Linked DNA regions of Homo sapiens: region 1 is linked to region 2. Evidence: promoter capture Hi-C in human tissues and cell types (Jung and others, 2019). All regions are on one chromosome and are shown on one strand. Each heading gives the region's core, a stretch centred on a gene start or on the middle of the fragment in contact. The rest is flanking DNA. Distances are from core to core; before and after follow the strand shown.

Region 1 (5,430 bases), core at 1,288-3,787, 280 kb after region 2:
TCCAAGGATGCAGAATCTGTGGAGATAAAGCAGGTCCTCCGCGGGGCAAGGGGTGCTGGGGGAGACCGTAAGTGAAACCACCACAAAATAAAGAAATCTGTCTAGCCTTCATTTTTCATTATTTTCTACCCTCTGGGATTGGAATGACAGCTACTCAATCTATGAGGCCTGTTTAAGAATACAGATTCCTGACCCTTACTTAAGACATAGATAATTACTCCTTCTGGAAAATCCACCTGAAGGATATTCTGATAGAAGAGTATGGGGACTAATTAATTAGAATAAAAATAATTTAATTCTTCATTTTACAACAGATTTTCAACTAGTAATTGCAAATAAAAATCAAAGTAAGTATGCCCCATGCGGTGGCTCAGGCCTGTAATCCCAGCACTTTGGGAGGCTGAGGTGGGCGGATCACTTGAGGTTAAGAGTTCAAGACCAGCCTGGCCAACACAGTGAAACCCCATCTCCACTATATGTATGTGTAAAAAAATTAGCTGGGTGTGGTGGCGTACGCCTGTAGTCCCAGCTACTCGGGAGGCTGAGACAGGAGAATTGCTTGAACCCAGGAGGCGAAGGTTACAGTGAGCAGAGACTGCACCACTGCACTCTAGCTTGGGCAATAGAGCAAGACCCTGTCTAAACAAACAAAACAAAACAAACAAAATATATATATATATATGTATGTCAGATACATTTAATACAGCTCATGCACACAGGGTGAATGCTGAAATAAAAATATAAAACAGAAGTTACAGAAAGATAGCATTTCTTTCCAGATTAATATATAAATGACTCAAATGTGTGGGGCATTTTCATTTTTTTCCCTCAGAATTTAAAATTTTTTGTATGTCTATTGCATGTAAAGTATAAATCTTTTTTTGTTTCTGAAATGTGGCAGGTGGTTGGACTATTATTTTATGATACATCATTTGTAACACTGCTGTATGAGAATGCTATCCTCTTAATAGCCTATGAGGCAGACATATCTCCATTTTACTTGTGAGACAACAGCTTAGAGAATCTAAATAACTTATCCAAGAAAGCACAGCTAATAATTAGGCTGAATTTTTGTTTACCATTATGTCTAAAAAATTCATGTAAAGTTGTCAGTCATACTCTGCTATGCTTCCTAGAGAATGTTTAATCTCACATGCCATTCTTAAGTCTGCAAAATGACTGAAGCTACATGAGGTATAAACTGAATAAAATTTTAATAATAATAATAATTATTATTATTTTTGAGACGGAGTGCCACTCTGTCACCCAGGCTGGAGTGCAGTGGCACGGTCTCAGCTTACTGCAAGCTCCGCCTCCCAGGTTCACGCCATTCTCCTGCCTCAGCCTCCCGAGTAGCTGGGACTACAGGCACCCGCCACCACGCCCGGCTAATTTTTTTTTATTTTTAGTAGAGACAGGGTTTCACCATGTTAGTCAGGATGGTCTTGATCTCCTGACCTCGTGATCCACCTGCCTTGGCCTCCCAAAGTGCTGGGATCACATGCGTGAGAATGCTTATAATAACTATACATTTGCCATATAAAGACACAACAATTTTATTGGAGGAAAGACTAAGACTACAATGAGTTTAAAAAAACAAAGTGGGCATATTTAAAAGTATAATCTTCCACATCATTTTAATAGGCTGTTATAAAAATACACACATGTCAAACGTACTACCTTAAAACTGTTAATTTTATGACAATATGCAAGCAAACATTAGATGCAAATTACAAGCCAAGTGTTCTAAAATACAAAATAAAAATCTGTTGTTTCCGTTTCTATTGCTTGTGATTCTTTTCTATCAGCAATTTTTAAAAATCTTACCTTTTATTATAGTCTTTACTGGTTAAACTTAAAAAAATAAAGGGCAGACTATCACCATACAAGGTATTTAACAATCTTCCCTCATTCATCAAGGGGAATTTAAACAGACTAAGTAATAACATACTTAGTTAACATAACATAGTCTTCAGACTAGTTATGACATCATTTCCATCAATAACCCACCCTGTCAATTTCCATTACCCTATCAAAAGGGGGTAATGTATAGTTCCAAAAGTTGCCTCAATTTTTTATCTTTAGTGAAAACTACCTCCTCTTGTGACTGATGGACACAAGAACATTTTAAAAAACCTACCCCTAACCCCGCAAAAGAGTAGTAGTAGTAGGATGAGTTCGAGTAGCCTAATAGGAACCTGTTGGCTTTTCCCTGCATATGTCATATGACCCTGTCAGATTTGGCCTAAATTCTTTCCTTTGGTTAATACATTTGGTAATAAGTTAACAAACGAGCAAGCCATATCTGAATTTCCTTTTAAATATTCCAGCTGAGATTTCATGGCCAGTTGCCTTTCTGATTGGAGTGAAGAAAAATTATAGGAGCTGGGATTGTTTCTCTTAAACCATGATTACTAAGGATTTATGCAATCTTAAAGCTTGCTTCAAAAGCTGTGAATACTGGAATAAATTCTGATCCTACACAAACATTATGGGTACATTTATTGTCTCTCTTGATGGGGTCATTGTGGTGGTGGGAAGAGGGCTGAAGAACTGGGAAGGTAAAAAACAAATAAACACACACACACACAAAACAAAAACTCCACAACTGACTGTCAAAACTTCATTTTCATAATGCAATGTTCTAAAGAGTATGATCTTGGCACACTGAACAAAGAAAACACTGATTGAGAACAGCCAAATAATGCTTTAATATAGTAATCTATGTAGGATACCAAGTAATTTTTAAAAAGGAAGTGTCCTTACTCAATAATAAATTCATCAATAAAACAAAGAAACAAAACCACTCAAATTCAATTACCCAAACATTCAATGAAATCTGAGTATTTTTAGTTGTAGAAAAAGGCCTGGGCTTTCTTGTTTCTAATCTAGTGGAGAAAATAAACCTAGAAACAATTCCATTATAATCCAATGTGTGCTAATTTTGGTTCAAAAAACCCATAAAGGAAAATAATTCCAATGAAATCACTATGTTTCTACAGAATAAGATTATGAAATAAAGTGAAATAAGACAAGAACATTACAATCATTATATTGTAACTGCTGTTTTTATCTGTATTTACCACAAAGCTACAAACTCGATGACAGTGAATAAGGATGTTTTTTTCTCCTAGTCAAGCAGAGGCTGGCTTCAATATTGTATTGAACACAGATATTCAATATTGAATAAGTAACAATTTTAATCACATAATTCTAAAAAGGAGTCTAATAAAACTATAGAAAAGATAAAATAGCAATTACTTTCAGTAATTAGAAATAAAAACAAAACTTGCTATTTATATACTATTTACAGTATTTTAAAGTATTACAAACAAGATTCTTTTCTGTTTTTCTGAGACAGGGTCTCGATCTGTCATGCCCAGGCTGGAATGCAGTGGCATAACGTCGGCTTACTGCAACCTCCGTCTCCTGGGTTCAAGCGATTCTCCCACTTCAGCTTCTCAAGTGGCTGGGACTACAGGCACATGTCACCGCACCCGGCTAATTTTTGTATTTTTAATAGAGACGGGGTTTCGCCACATTGCCCAGGCTGGTCTCGAACTCCTGAGCTCAAGCAATACTCCCGCCTCAGCCTCCCAAAATGCTGGGATTACAAGCATGAGCCACTGTACATGATCAGTTTTAACTTAAAATTAGTAATGAAATATTTAAAAGACCCTTAAAGTAAATAGCATTTAATTTGGATTAAAGATCAATTGTTAGCAAGTGAAAAACCCAAAAAAGCCAATAACACTGACATTCAAACTCACTTTTTCCACAAAGTCACAATAGGTTAAATTATATTTTACTACAATTTTATAAAAAGTTTACAAAGATGTGAAACATAGGAAACATGGTCCTTTTAATTTATTCGGATAGGTATTAGAAATAAAAGCATCCTGACCAGGCATGGTGGCTCACACCTGTAATCCCAGCACTTTGGGAGACCGAGGCAAGTGGATCACCTGAGGTCAGGAGTTCAAGACCAGCCTGACCAACATGGTGAAAACCCGTCTCTACTAAAAATACAGAAATTAGCTGGGCGTGCTGGCAGGCGCCTGTAATCCCCACTACTCAGGAGGCTGAGGCAGGAGAATCGCTTGAACCTGGGAGACAGGCTGCAGTGAGCTGAAATCGCACCATTGCACTCCAGCCTGGGGGGCAGAGCAAGACTTCGTCAAATGAATGAATGAATGAATGAATGAATGAATGAATAAATAAATAAATAAATAGAAAAGCATCCTTTGAGAAGCAGTACAACATCTGGAAGAAGCCAGATAAACGTGGGCTCAAAATTTTGGTTCTGCCTCTTACTAACTTCATGAATATAAGTCACGTAATTTCTTTGAGAATAAAGCGTGTTTGTGTGCATATGTGTATGTGTGGTGTGAAACAGAAGTCAAAGTTCATTCCCCCTCATTTGGATATTCAACTACTCCTGCCCAAGTCACTGAAACACCTGTTTTTCTCATATACACTGGAGTGGCAACTTGGTCATTAGGTATCTAAATGAGTAGGTCTATTTCTGGATGCACTACTCTGTTCCGCTGTTCTATTTATTTATCCTTGTGCCAATACCGTAGTTTTAGTTACTGTAGCTTTCTAAGTTCTGGTATCCAGCAGTATTAAGTTTTCTAACTTTGCTTTTCAAAACTGTCTTCACTACTTTTGGTTCTGCTTTTCCATTTTCATTTTTTGCATCAGCTTATCAATTTCTTTTTAAAACCTAATTTTATTGATAGCGTTCAATCTTTAGACCAACTAGAAGAAAGCTGGTATCTTTATAATAGGGAGTCTTTCAACCTAAAATATGGTATGTCCTTCCATTTATTTAAGTCATCTGTAACTTCCATCAGCATTTTATAGTTTATAATGTAAAAGATCTTGCACTTCTTCTGCTGGATCCATTCCTAGATATATCACAACAAAACCAACTCCAGTGAAAATATTCTCTACATATAAGAAACAACTTTTCAAAGCCATTCTAAGAGATATATGCTACTTTCATTTTTATGTTATTTGGCTAACACTGCAAATCTCTCATGAAGCACATCTGCCTGTATTTTAAAGGCTACCTTTTGATCCTTAGGGTACCTTATAAGCATGGTGGGATGGTGTAAATTACAGGTGAATTCTTGGTAGATTAAAATAATCTCTGCCAGCTACAAATTATTTCAAGTCAGTGTTTTCATGTGGAGGCTACTGAAAATTTCAGTGGGACGAAACTATTTTTGTGCTGACTATGCAAAGTATAACATCTGGCTACCAGGCATTTAATGCCAATAGAATCCCCACAATCATTGTAACGAGCAAACCCTGTTGCCGCACATTTGCAAACTGTTCACATCCTTGTGAAGTCTACTACGAGGCATTTTAAACAAGTGGCCAGAGTGATTCTGATGCCAAAACACAGGATGGGATCAAGTATTT
Region 2 (5,446 bases), core at 1,642-4,141:
GCAATATCTATGATTGTTACTGGACGGATCTGCTGAATCAACACTAGTTGTATTAAATATAATATACTGATCTTGTTAGACTCTCACAGCCATATTCCTCATATTTATTTCTTTCAGCACAATTCATAATCATTCAGTTCCAAAACAAATACTTTACTCCATTTTCCAAACCTCCCAAGAATTGATTTCCCATCTTGTTCACTAATTTCAAAGAATACTCCAGTCACAGCTCATCAAAAGGGCAGAGCAGAAAAAGAAGTTTGTTTTTAAAAAAGCCTTCAATGTTAAACAAAATGAATGCACTTCTTAATGTAATTTAAAACTTGCAGGCCAGGCACGGTGGCTCACACCTGTAATCCCAGCACTTAGGGAGGCCGAGGTGGGTAGATCACGAGGTCAGGAGATCAAGACCATCCTGGCTAACACGGTGAAACCCTGTCTCTACTAAAAATACAAAAAAATTAGCCAGGCATGGTGGTGGGCACCTGTAGTCCCAGCTACTTGGGAGGCTGAGGTAGGAGAATGGCATGAACCCAGGAGGCGGAGCTTGCAATGAGCCGAGATCCAGCCACTGCACTCCAGCCTGGGCAACAGAGCGAAACTCTGTCTCAAAAAAAAAAAAAAAAAAAAAAACTTGCCAAATATTGTAAGCAAAAGTATGTATATACAGACACACATATATATATATACACACGTATATATATATCTATATACACATTTAAGAAACAGAGAAAAACTTTCTTTTAACACAGTTTTAAAAAACTAAAGCACTGACAGATTGAACTATAAAACAGCATAAGCCAAACTTTAATTGGTACTCTTCTTTACTTAGGCTGTCCACTAGCCCTTTGTGTAGTGGTTAAAAACAAGGACTTGAATGTGAGACAAACTTAGTTTCACATCCTTGTTCCGCCACTTACTGGCTGCGTGACCTAGGGCAGTTAACAGCTCAGAGCCTCAATTTTCTCACCTAGAATACCTACTGCCCAAGATTATTGTGAAGTCAAATAAGATTGTGAAGGTTAAACATCCACTACATGGAAAATCGTCAATAAGTATTTATTATTCATACCGCATTCAAAGTTGTAAGGTAATGCTATTCAAAGTGCGGTCTGAGGACCAGCAACTCAGCTTCACTAGAAATGGAAATTCTCAGGCCCCATCCCGGGTCTATTGTGTGGGGGTAGAGCATGAAATCCATCTTAACAACCTCTTCCAGTGATTCTTATACCTAATACAGTTTGAGAAGCTATGTTGTAAGGAATCCAAAAATGTAATGCAGTTTAACCCCCTACATTTTCATTTTATGGAAGACTAAACTAAAGTAGTAAGATCCTCAGCTAACTTGTTGAAAGTCATTCAGTAGTCTTGTGGAAGAGCTGAGATTTAACTCCAATTACCTTATCTAGGTCTTCAATCTAGGGGGGCTAAGAAGTGGGAAGCTGTTTGCTGTGATTCCAGAGAACTAGATAAAGAAAGAAATCAAGCAGCAAAGACAAGAGACCTACTAATAGAAATGTAAAACGTATCCCATTTTCTGTTCTTGGACACTAGGTGAATAACCATTAATGCATCTGATAAGCAGAAAGGATGACACAGACCTGTAAACAATCTGCCAGATTTTCTTAGTGAAATGTTGACTCACAGGATTTCTTTTAGACTCCTAATAATATAGTACAATAATTAGACATAGCATAACACAGTGACTTATTTTCATTCTTCATTATTTTTCATTTTCCATTAATAACTCAGCAAAAACCATCCGATGTTTACATTCAACATTCTCTGAACTTTATTGCAAATATACTCCAGAAAAACACCATAAAATGTTTTGGTAGTTTTCCCTTTAAAATAATCAGAACTGCATATTGACAGATAACATGAGTAGACCGCACTGAACAAATAACATTAGCCAATTTACTACCAAACATGTGGGCTTGCATTCATTTACCTGTCTGCGTCTCTAATTTCAAAACTTTCAGTAATCCATCTTCACCACCGCATGCTATGAACCCTTGTTCCTTGTTCCAGGATACACACTGCAGCTTCACGTTATTGGGAATGGAAATCTGAAAAAGCAACCACAGCCGCACTAGCAACTTTTCACGAAGGAGCTGGGAAGTAAGTCTGCAGGAGATGAAAGCTGAAGAAAATCTTCCAAGAAGAAAAACGAACGGCCTTGCAGAAAAAAAATGAGCTGTTGTGAAAATGGGCATGGTCCCCTGAACTGACCCGGGCTCTAGCATTTGGGAAAGAGGGAAAGAAGTGCACAAAAGAGAAGGATAGTGACTGCGGAGGAAGCCAACGCCAGAGTCTCACCGGATGGATTTTTTAAAGGGAGGACGGGGAGAGGGTATAAATCCATACCACCAGTCCCTCTTCCTTTTTACCTACAACTTAGGCTATCCTATTGTTATTTCTTTTCTCTTGCCCAATGGCTCGTGGTGATCCAAAGAGTTTAAATCACGTGGATCAGCAACAAGTGGAGGAGGAAACATAGGGTAGCACGTGGCGACTTATCCTCAAGCCACCCAAAAGGACCTAGCCAGGGGCAGGAATGGGAGAGTGCTGCGAGAGGGCAGCAAGCTCGGCCAAAGACTGAGGCTCTGGGAACCGCAGGAAGAGGTCGGAGGCTGGACCCGGCGGGAAGGATGGCTGCGGAATGGCGAAGCCACGACCAGGACCGGGTGAAGGAGCCTGGCTTCTCGGGAAGGCAGCGGGAATCGCCGCAGGCTGCGGGAATGGCGGAGAAACGAGGACGCCCCCCAGGAAACTCACTTTCTTGCTCAGGTAGAAGAACATCGTGGGATCCCCGAGAGGGTCACGGCGGCCGCTAAGGCCCTCGACAAGTAACGGTTCTACGTCTCCAATCGGGAGTACCAGCAGCTCCGGAAAGCTCCCGTCGCCCTGGCAACCGCTGTTGCCCGGTCGCATCCGGGGCGCCGCGGGACACTTCCGGTGACGCCCTCGCACCGGGCACCGGCGTAGTGCGCCTGCGCGGACGTCGATGGGTTTGTGGGCGCAGGGCGCGAGGCGCGAGGCGGTAGCTGGGCTAGTCCTGTTCCCTGGCGTCTGGGCCTTTCTGCTCTCCGCAAGGAGCTGGGTCGCGACCTGTCACTGCCAGCCGTGCGCTCGCCCTCTGCGCCCCGTCTCGTGGTCACTGCCGCCCTCCCTCCCGCCACACCTGTGATGATCGCTATGGAGCCGCGCCTCAGGTGGCATTACTATAAACCTAAGAGGAGAGGCGCCCGTTCGAATAAGGGCAAATTATTTAGTATTTTGTAAGTTCCAAAGTTCCAACATTCTTGAAAGGGAAAAGCCATTTACTGTATTTGATAGGCTGGCGCCACTGGCCAGATGAAAGTGCAAATGTGCGTACTGAGATCTTACAACCCTTCTCTGTGTCTTTGGGGATTGGAGAACCTCTAGAGCAATTTAGGAATAGAAGATTTTGTTTATTCCGCTTGTTTTGATATTTTTTAACAGTTTAATTATTACCGCAACCCCGAGGGTCCTTTTAAAGGAATTTCTGTAAACGTTGGGTAATTACAGCGTACAATTGCTATTGGGGCATGGCCTCCCATTTTACAAATATTTGAGCGTTTGGTGTTTTCTCGTCTAGAGTCGACTGTTACATATTCTCTTCTTTTTCTTACCTTCTTTCTTCATTCTCCTTTGTCCTTTTGGAATGCTTGAGAGTTACAAAGCCTCAAAGTCTAAGGCATAGGGCAGAAATCCAAGTAGAACCACTCATGAAATTATTTGGTCTCACCTATGTTTTTATTTCTGGTTTTCCCTTTTACCATAATCTAGCATGTAATTTATGCATCAGTAGTTAATTTCCCCACTTGGAGTCTTTTCCCATCTCAGACAAAAATAAAATAAAAATCCTCCAATCCTTTGACCTGGGTGATTTGTCTCACCCAGCACAATCTATTATAGAATTGACAATAGTCCCTAGTGCCTTTCCTAGCAAATCTAAACTCCATCCAAAATCAGATCTTCCCTCAATCCTAAATGTTTTTACTAGGGAGCCCCCACCTCAAGTAAGCCAATATGCTTTCTGCAGGGCAACATTCCATCCGGCTCTGCTTCCCAAGCCACTTTATATATGGTCCTACCCTCTTAACAGGCCAGTTGTGCCTAGCCAAACCAGCACAAATCAGTCTCCATGAGGAATTCTTTCCAAACTTAACCCAATCCCATTCAGATAATGTTTGCTTTCCATTGTTTGTGTGTCTGTTTAAGATACATTGGCCCCTGTCCATAGGCTCCCTATACTGGACGCATGAGACAAATTAGTATTATCTAACCCAGGAGTTTCCAATAAACTGGTCAAGACATAATTAGTTGAAGCTAGTTACTGATGGTGACACCTGAAAACTCACCTCTCTTTATCTTTCCCTTCTTGCACATGAACTCTCATTTATTCCTTCTATACCACCATTTCTCTGTGGTATATTAATATGTATTACTGATTTTGGGCTCAAAAAAGTCTGGAAAATACTACTGTAGCTCTATGTCATACCCTTTCAAAATTTTTGAAAAGTAAGAGATGCTTTATATATTTCCTTGGTATATTTAGTTTTTGTTCCTTCCTTAAAGTTTATATTTTATATTTACATCTGTAGGATATATTTGCTTCTCAGGAGCTTATATTAATGTAAAGCTCATCATTATTTTATCCAAATTTAGATAATTTTATATTGAAGCCTTTCTTTTGAACCTGAACTTACACTTTTAGCCTCAGGAGTGTGAGATTAAACTATAGGAGGAGAATCAAACTTCTGTCTTTTGATAAGAAACTGTTGAATATCAAAATAACTGTTAATTCAGTATAATTTAAAGAAATATCTTTAATAGACAAAATTGATGAGTCATCAAAAATAGACATGATAATATGTAAAGGTAATAACTTTTATTATATTAAAGACAATGCAAACGAAAAACAGAATTGAGCAGTGCAAAATTTAAAGGACTGTTTTGTTCTCAAAGTTGCAAGTTTCAAAGCCAAAAGAATTATATGTATCAAATATATAAGTAAAAAAAAGTTAGACTTTCAAGCCTGTAATCCCAGCACTTTGGGAGGCTGAGGCAGGTGGATCACTAACATTAAAAAGACAACATTAGATTTTGTCGATTTATAGCAATTTTATAAATATATAACTTTGTCACTTGGATCCTGAAGCAAAATAATAAAGTGAATTTGGGATTTTTGTACTTGGTAAAAAGTTTAACACCCTAAATTCACAACTAGTGCTCTTTAGTAGTACATTTCTTTCAAAGACCAGAATGAATTAAAAATGGCAATGTAATGTTCACTTGATCTGTGTTAACTATTTTTAGATATGTGTATTACAATCTATTGATCACATCTTCAATAATACTCCAACAAAATAAGCAAAAAACAAAAAGTGTTAAACAGTTCAAAATTACATTCATCTCA

The links. The method cuts DNA at HindIII sites, captures the fragments that hold promoters and counts their contacts. A contact is called where the count stands out against the background at its distance.
Region 1: a fragment that was not itself captured here is called in contact with the fragment with the promoter of WDR35 in region 2 in 2 of the 25 tissues and cell types used here (IMR-90 fibroblasts and aorta).

Annotation. Positions count from the first base shown.
Region 1 is chr2:20,267,976-20,273,405 of GRCh38, forward strand. All of the region lies in intron 13 of PUM2 (pumilio RNA binding family member 2), which reads right to left. Among named protein-coding and RNA genes, the nearest start is that of SDC1, 46 kb to the left of the region's middle. The HindIII fragment of the contact is 7,481 bases long and covers 1-5,430 here.
Region 2 is chr2:19,987,214-19,992,659 of GRCh38, forward strand. WDR35 (WD repeat domain 35) reads right to left here and starts at 2,892. Exons shown (of 27, transcript NM_020779.4): 1 at 2,779-2,892; 2 at 1,952-2,069. The coding sequence starts at 2,802. It overlaps WDR35-DT (WDR35 divergent transcript), which reads left to right and starts at 2,991. Exons shown (of 3, transcript NR_110235.1): 1 at 2,991-3,281. MATN3 (matrilin 3) reads right to left here. Exons shown (of 8, transcript NM_002381.5): 8 at 4,839-5,446. RefSeq lists enhancers at 2,623-2,672, 2,689-3,192, 2,823-2,872 and a silencer at 3,033-3,112. The HindIII fragment of the contact is 18,147 bases long and covers 1-5,446 here.